2 separate regions of the Homo sapiens genome follow, and region 2 is linked to region 1. The links are contacts of gene promoters, found by promoter capture Hi-C in blood cells and fetal thymus (Javierre and others, 2016). All regions are on one chromosome and are shown on one strand. Each heading gives the region's core, a stretch centred on a gene start or on the middle of the fragment in contact. The rest is flanking DNA. Distances are from core to core; before and after follow the strand shown. Region 1 holds the start of IRAK3 (interleukin 1 receptor associated kinase 3). Region 2 has its middle 18 kb from the start of GRIP1.

Region 1 (3,777 bases), core at 164-2,663:
GAGAATAATCTGCCTCACTAATTTACCACACCCACCTGGCCCCATTCACCAACATTAAACTGGACTAAAAACACTTTTCTTTCTCAAAGTCAGTAACTCTAGGAAATCAACGGGTATAAATACTGTCCACGCCAAAATCCATCTCAAAAAGATCTGATGGGGAAGTGACCTTATCCCTCAAAATCCCTCAAATGCACACTGGAAATCTCGTTTTCTAGAAATCAGACTTTTTTTTTTTTCTTAAGGGCCATAACTTAAAATTACAGAGCTTAAAATATATAAACATTTTTTGTATAACCAGAAGCCCATTGCTACAATTCAAAGACTGTCACCATACTGTTCATCAGTAACAAAGAAAACTCTCCTCTTAGGCCTTCTGCTAGTCCTGGTAAGAAAAATCCTATTTCAGACCATTAAAGCTAAGTTATTTTGACATAATCATGATTCTTTTCAATAAACATTAAACATGACATTGTGGAATATCAAATCTAACCAAAAATGCCTGTACTTAACAAAACGAAGATTTTTGTCCGAATTATCTCTGGCTACACTCAACACTTCCAGCAGGCAGTTGCTCAACTTTCCAATGTCTGCATAAAATACAGTTCTGAAGCCAATTTTTTTAGATTAAAATAAAAAGCCACCCTTTAGCATAAACCTTCATTCAACGAAATTGGGTAAATAAGATTTAATTAAGAAAATTAGGAGCCGCGTTCATTGCAAACCGTAGTTTACTTTAGCATTTCACTTGTAATTAAGTTAGGGGCTTAGGGATGCATTGAAAACACCAAAGGATAAGTATCTCAAAGTTCTAAAAATGTCTCAATACTAAAATGATGTTCTGGGGTGATTTTGCAAGGACCAGAAGACATCATACATTGCGAACCCAGTGAGGGTGGCATCGCGGACGAACAGAAGATGCTTTCACGCTGGTTATCTGTCTTTCCCAGGCCTCGGCTCCCTTGACTTTGCAGCGATACCCAAAATTCTTTGAAAGAGAAGGGAGGGAAGGCATCTGGGTCCCAGGGAGTCTCTGCATCCAACCCAGGAAAGGAGGGGGCCGGCTCCCTGGCGGGAACTTCCCGGAGGCCGCGCCAGCCCCGCGAGGGACCCCAGCCATGCAGGGCGACGCCGAGCGGGCCCCGCGGCGCGCTGGGCTCCCCCGCCGCCCCCGGCCGGTCCCCGCCGACTCACCCAGGCCGCGCCAGCCCAGCGCGCCGTCGCAGCTGTCCAGAACAGCGCAGAGCTCTCCGAGCAGCGCGGGCGGCAGGTCGAACAGCAGCGTGTGCGCCGACAGCGCGCCGCGGGCCCCACAGTTCCCCGCCATGGCTCGGCTGCCCGAGCCCCGGGGACGAGGCGGAGTCCAGGTCCCTGCACGCCTGCGACAGGCCGTTACACAACCGCGGAAATCCTGCTTCCACGACGGCAGCAGAGCCCTAGGAACACGCCGTTCTCCGGTCACTGCAGGGGCGGTGCCCACGTGACGCAAGGCGCGCCTCGCCCGAGATGCCCCTGCGTCCGCCTGGCCAGGCCTGGGGGTTACCCGACCCGGGTTCTCCCTTCGCTGGCTTTGCGCCCCTTCACACCTCTGCGGTGGGGACGGAGCTGCCGAGACAAGCAGAGTGCGAACTGGAGAAAGCCCAGAGCTCAGAGCTCCCAGGAGCCCACCGTGCCCCACGGCTAGGCGGTCTCCTGGTGTGGACGGCTAGCGGTGTCATTACTTCTTACAAAAGTTTATTTTTGAAAGCTTCTCCCTTCCTTCCTTCTTCCCTTCCTTTCTTTTCTTCCTTTTTTCTTTGTTTTGAGTCAGGTTCTCACTCTGTCGCCCAGGCAGGAGCGCAGTGGCGCTATCTCAGCTCACGGAGCCTCCACCTATTGGGCTCAAGCGATCCTCCCACCTCAGCCTCCCGAGTAGCTGGGACCACAGTCGCACGCCACCACGTCCGGCTAATTATTTTTTTTCGTTTTTCGTAGAGAGGGAGTGTCGTTATGCTGCCCAGGCTGGTTTCAAACTCCTGGCCTCAAGCGATCCTCCCACCTCCGGCTTCCCAAAGTGCTGGGATTCGGGGTGTTAGCCACTGTCCCGGACTACTTCTTTTTTATCCTGTCAGAAAAACTATCCATGTTCATCGAGGAACACTTGGAAAACCCAGAAAAAAACTGAAAAAAGAAGATAATCACTCACAACCCCACTCAGCCCATCACACTCTAAAAGTTTTGACACATTTTCCTCCCAACTTTTACTGAATTTAAACAGATAAAAATGTACATATATGGGATTATTATTGGAAAAGATGAATGTAGATACCAACAAGAGAAAAACAGAAAAGACACCAAATCAGCGTAAAATTATGTTCGTTTTCTTCACGAGGCGGCCTCTCCTCCATACACCTACTTGGTTTTAATAAATTTTCTTCCTCATGGGCTTCCTTGATGAAATATCGTTCCATCATTTTTTCCTTCCTCAAAGTGCTTCACACAATCTTCCTTTTTGCCTTCAACATGGAGTTTAAGTAAAATTGTTGTTTTGAAATCTTCACGGAGTTTAAGTAAAATTGTTGTTTCAAAATCTTCTAGGTCACATGAGGCATGTTACCAGTGACAAAAAGTTGTTTTGAAAGTGGTGAGAAAAATCTCAGCCTTAGTGACTGGAAGAGTGGGCAGTGGCCATCAAGTGAAAACACCAGAGGTGTTTTGAAACCTCTCAGATTGTAGTCTTTGGAATAGCTGCCCCTAGAGATCACGAGTGATGAAACACTATCATTTCATGCCCCTACCTGAATGGTTTTGCCAGCGAAAATACTTCATAAAAATGTATCTGAAAACTGGCAAAGCCCATACTGTGTGGGCAAGAATTTCGATATCCCGTTGTTCAAGGTTTTATTGTCAATCTGTACACACTGTACACCTACCTACCTTCCTTCCTTCCTTCCTTCCTTCCCTCCTTTCTTCCTTCCTTCCCTCCTTTCTTTCTTATTTGTTTTTTTTAGTCGCTCTGATTGCCCAGGTTGGGGTGCAATGGTGCGATCTCGGCTCACTGCAACTTCCACCCCCTGGGCTCAAGCCATCCTCCCACCTCAGCCTCCAGTACAGCTGGGACTACAGGTGCATGCCACCATGCCTGGCTAACCTTTGTAGTTTTTGTAGAGACGGGGTTTTCCCATGTTGCTCAATCTGGTCTCAAACTCCTGGGCTCAAGTGATCCACCTCCCTAGGCCTCCCAAGGTTCTGGGATTACAGGCATGAGCCACCACACCCGGCCCTCTATACATCTCTTAAAGGGACTACCTGAACATGCTGAGCAACAGAGGCAAAAGGCCATTAATTATTTGGTAGCTTTTGAATTGCTACTACAGGGAGGCAAACTCACTCAGAGGAAACAGGAAATCACTGCAGATGAGGGAAGCAATCAGAAAGGCCTGCTTTACCAGATCTTGTAATTTACCAAGAAGCAAGGATCCTAAGTGAAAGCTAGAGTATGTGAAATTTCCTGTATTTTCAGTGTTGGCAGTCGTTCTCAGACCATGTTGCCTTCCTATTCCTAAAACTGTCTTGAGTTTTGATTTTTATATCATCAGGTTGTATCATCATGGTTGCTATCAACTGCTGATCTCCCCGACTCCAATTCCTTCTCCTCGTTTTTAGACTCTCTAGCTCCTGGCTCATTGTTGCTCTCTCCAGTACTAATCCTATCTTAGTTCTCAGTGATTTAAAATATATGTAGAATAACTATTCACAATAGCAAAGACATGGAATCAAGCCAAATGCCCATCAATG
Region 2 (3,770 bases), core at 1,082-3,581, 510 kb before region 1:
GATAGTAATGGTAGCAACAGCTGGCATTTACTGAGCCTGCTGCATGACTGAGAACTTCACTTAAGCCTCCCAACAACGCTGCAAGGGTAGAGGCTGCTGTTTTCCCCACTTATGAAAATATGAGTTTGCCCACAATCATACAGTAGGAACAGTTTTTCTTACTCCAGAAACTGTGCTTTAAAAAGTCAAAGAAAGAAATAACCAAGTTTGTTATGGTAACATTGGTAGAGGACTTGAGTGGTGCTTCCACCTACTGGGCTTCCAGAGCAGCTAGATACGATAGGTAGATTCATATTAACCTCTGGAGGGGATGGGGTGGGAGGACCACCCTAGAGCCAACAAAGGAGGTGGGGGGCCAGACTATTATTATCTTCACCGAACAAACAAGAAACAGGGAAGGAGGAAGGCAAGAAAAGAGAAAATAACTCTGCCGAGATTTCTAGCCTAGGAGACTTGCGGGTTGGTGGCCAAACTGACAAATAGGAAATAGTTGAAAAAGAGCTGTCCTGGGAAGCATTTGTGAAGTTCTGCCTTGCGTGTGTAGAATGTGGGTTCATGGTGGAACTTTCAAGTGTTTACATCCTGTGTGCAAATGAAAATAAGGCACAGGTACAGCTTTTACTCTTCAACAAATATTTTTTAAAAACACAAGGCGTCCTGATACTAAAAAGTGATGTTTCCCCATAGTTGACAGGTAAAAAACACTTTCTTTCTAAATTAAGTACAATTAATTGTGATCTTAGTTACTTTGTTCACTCCTGGTTACATTTTTGACATGTTAATTCTTTTCAGTGCATGTTCAAGTCTAGATACATATTGATTGAAGAGAAGAATTTTGAGACAAATCTCATGAACCTCCATATCTGGTGGCACAAGTCTCATTTAGCAATGTGCTCCATTCTTTTTCAAGCTCCTAATCTCTGATTGTTGTAAATATTGTAGAAAGCATATTGCTTTCTACAAATATAGGATCACAAATACTGTAACCGTAATTCTTTTCTGTATTTAATACTGCATACTGAAGATTTTTTCTAGTTGTAGAATACAGAGAAATCTAGATATATGGTCCAGATCGATAACAAGAGGATCAATAAGCTTTTATTCTTGTTGCACTTCGCTTTGTTGAGGGGGTCTTGATTTGCATTTGCTGATTAGAGCCATTTGTCTAATATATAGACATGAGAAACATAGTTTGAATAAGGCCAGAACTTCCTACAAAGAGAGTAACCCACTAAAAATACTTTCGAATCTGTTGCTTTTCACTTCCTTACACCTTCTCTCCTGGAATTTAGTTCAGATTTGGAGCTGTCTATGGACAGAGAAAGAGGCATCAGTTTCATCCCTGTGCCTGACTCAGCTCAGTGCAGCCAGTTAGCACGCTTCTCAGCCCTTCACCACAAAACCAAAAGTATCTTAAAAAGTAGTCTCAAATGTGTGACTGCCCCAAATTGAGCCCCAAGTGAGTCTGGAGCTGAGGGCCAGGTGCATTTGTGTTGTCGGCCATTTCCCTATGGTTATCTAGCCCATTCTGCCTTCTGTTTGAAGATAACTGAAATATTATCAAAAATGGTTTGTTTAAAGGTGTAACAGCTGTGTTTCTGCAAGAAGCTCATAATAATTAAATTAATACCTGTAGTGGCTCTCTCTAAGGAAGTCTGGAAGCTTTGCACATATTAACATATTTATTCTTTCCACCTCTCTCTGATGTGAGGGAAAGGTCATTGTCATTTTTATATTTCCCTTGATGCAAAAGGAAATAAGTTACAGCAAGGATGGAGTTTGAGATAGGTCAGGAGAGAAGGAAAATTGGTCTTTTTTCCCTTTAGATTTTAGTCCTTTTGTTCATGGTTGTTAAAGTTCAAACTATTCCATTCCTCTATCCATTAATACATTTGCTTGTTCCTTCATTCATTCACTACCAAATGTTTATAAAGCACCTGCTATATGTCAGGCACTGGGATCACACTTGTCTTCAGAGTAGTTTGAAACTTCACTGTTGTACAGAAGTTACTTTGTGCTTTACAGAACCCAGAACCACCTCTGGGAAGCACAGTTTATAAACCACTGAAGTAGAACATTCAGTCATTTATTCAACAAGCAACTTTTTTTGCATCTACCAAATTCTATTAGGTGCAGGCTGCCTAACATCCCTCTTGGATCACAAAATCTATAACAGTAATTCTTTTTTTTTTTTTTTTTTTTTTTTTTTTGAGACAGAGTCTTGCTCTGTCACCCAGGCTGGAGTGCAGTGGTGCGATCTCAGCTTACTGCAAGCTCTGCCTCCCGGGTTCACGCCATTCTCCTGCCTCAGCCTCCCAAGTAGCTGGGACTACAGGTGCCCGCCACCATGCCCAGCTAATTGTTTGTTTGTTTGTTTTTTGTTTTTTGTTTTTTTTAGTAGAGACGGGGTCTGTGTTGGCCAGAATGGTCTCGATCTCCTGACCTTGTGATCCGCCCGCCTCGGCCTCCCAAAGTGCTGGGATTACAGACGAGAGCCACCACGCCTGGCCTAACCATAATTCTTTTTAAAATTTCTTTTTCATGCTGAGTATGTTCCACCTTTCTCTAACTCATTCTCTTTGTAGCCTCTTTATGACTATCAGGAATAAAGAATTTGTAGAATGTCTTCTTTGTTACACTGTCCTTAATAATGTTTAGATTGGTATTTTTCTTTAGGCTAGCAACTTACTCATCAGGAATCAAATTCTTCAAATGACAAGGAGCTTGCAGAGCTAGAGTTTTCTGTAGATTGAGAGAAATGAATAGGTTGACTTGTGTTTCTGTATGTCTACTGGGTCAAAGGACCATTCTTGAGATGTGAAAGTACCCTAAAGAGTGGCACAGCTGGTAAGTGTTATGAGTTGTCCTTTAAAAAAAAAATGGGGTTTTGAGATAATAGTAATTTTGCTAATCATTAGCTTATTCCATTTTATGCCTATATTGTGATTTGATTCTCTCTTCCCCTCTTCATTTAGTTTTTCCGTTTTCTTTCAAGCTTCATTCCCATTTGCCCCATGCTACCAGTTCTTTCTTCTCCTGGAATATTTGCCTGCTCCACCATGGACAGACTCTTAGTTATCCTTCACAATCCACCTCCAGTCCCACCTCCTCTGTGAACCTTTCCTACTGCCTCATTTATCCATTCTTCTCACTAATTTGTTTTCTCCCTTTTGCATCCACACATCCTACTGATAGTATCAATAAAGCTGATATTCCACTGAATTATTGTTACTTGTTTAAAGATACCCTGCATATGTAAATGACATTGCAGAAAAGATATTCATTAAGTGATATTTTTATTCCATTCTATCACCTTCACCAATGCCCTCCCCAAGAAGCTCCTTAAAAACGAAGATTATCAACCTCAATTTTGTACCTCTAGTTCCCTCCCCAGTGCTTGAAACATTTGCTTTCAGCTAGCAACAACACTGTAGCAGTTTTGGATAAGATAACCTCCTACCTGCCTAGCAAGGGCTTTCAGATTTATGCCCATGGATCAATCCCATTAGTGGTAGACATGGACTAGGGCCAAGAGGAGGAGTGGAGCCAACCACCGACAAGTCACAGGATCTCCTCCTCTCGTGTGGCCCATAGCTCGTGCTGTGTATCCCAACCTTGGGCTAATCAGTCCACTTCTGGAACAGGTGTTCTCTGTCCAGCATACTGTGGCTGACAGGAGAGGGGAAGAATTTGCCACCTGGTCAGAATTTGTGTAAACAGATGCCATAAAAAAAAAAAAAACAGGTTAGATTGCATGCTGGGTCAGCAGT

What was found. The method cuts DNA at HindIII sites, captures the fragments that hold promoters and counts their contacts. A CHiCAGO score of 5 or more calls a contact.
Region 2: a contact is called between a fragment that was not itself captured here and the fragment with the promoter of IRAK3 in region 1, in 2 of 17 cell types (M0 macrophages and total B cells). The highest score is 5.3, in M0 macrophages.

Annotation. Positions count from the first base shown.
Region 1 is chr12:66,186,850-66,190,626 of GRCh38, reverse strand. It overlaps IRAK3 (interleukin 1 receptor associated kinase 3), which reads right to left and starts at 1,413. Exons shown (of 12, transcript NM_007199.3): 1 at 1,195-1,413. The coding sequence starts at 1,327. RefSeq lists silencers at 1,079-1,238, 1,259-1,308. The HindIII fragment of the contact is 2,960 bases long and covers 1-1,749 here.
Region 2 is chr12:66,695,245-66,699,014 of GRCh38, reverse strand. It overlaps a transcript of GRIP1 not described here. Among named protein-coding and RNA genes, the nearest start is that of GRIP1, 18 kb to the right of the region's middle. The HindIII fragment of the contact is 1,333 bases long and covers 1,665-2,997 here.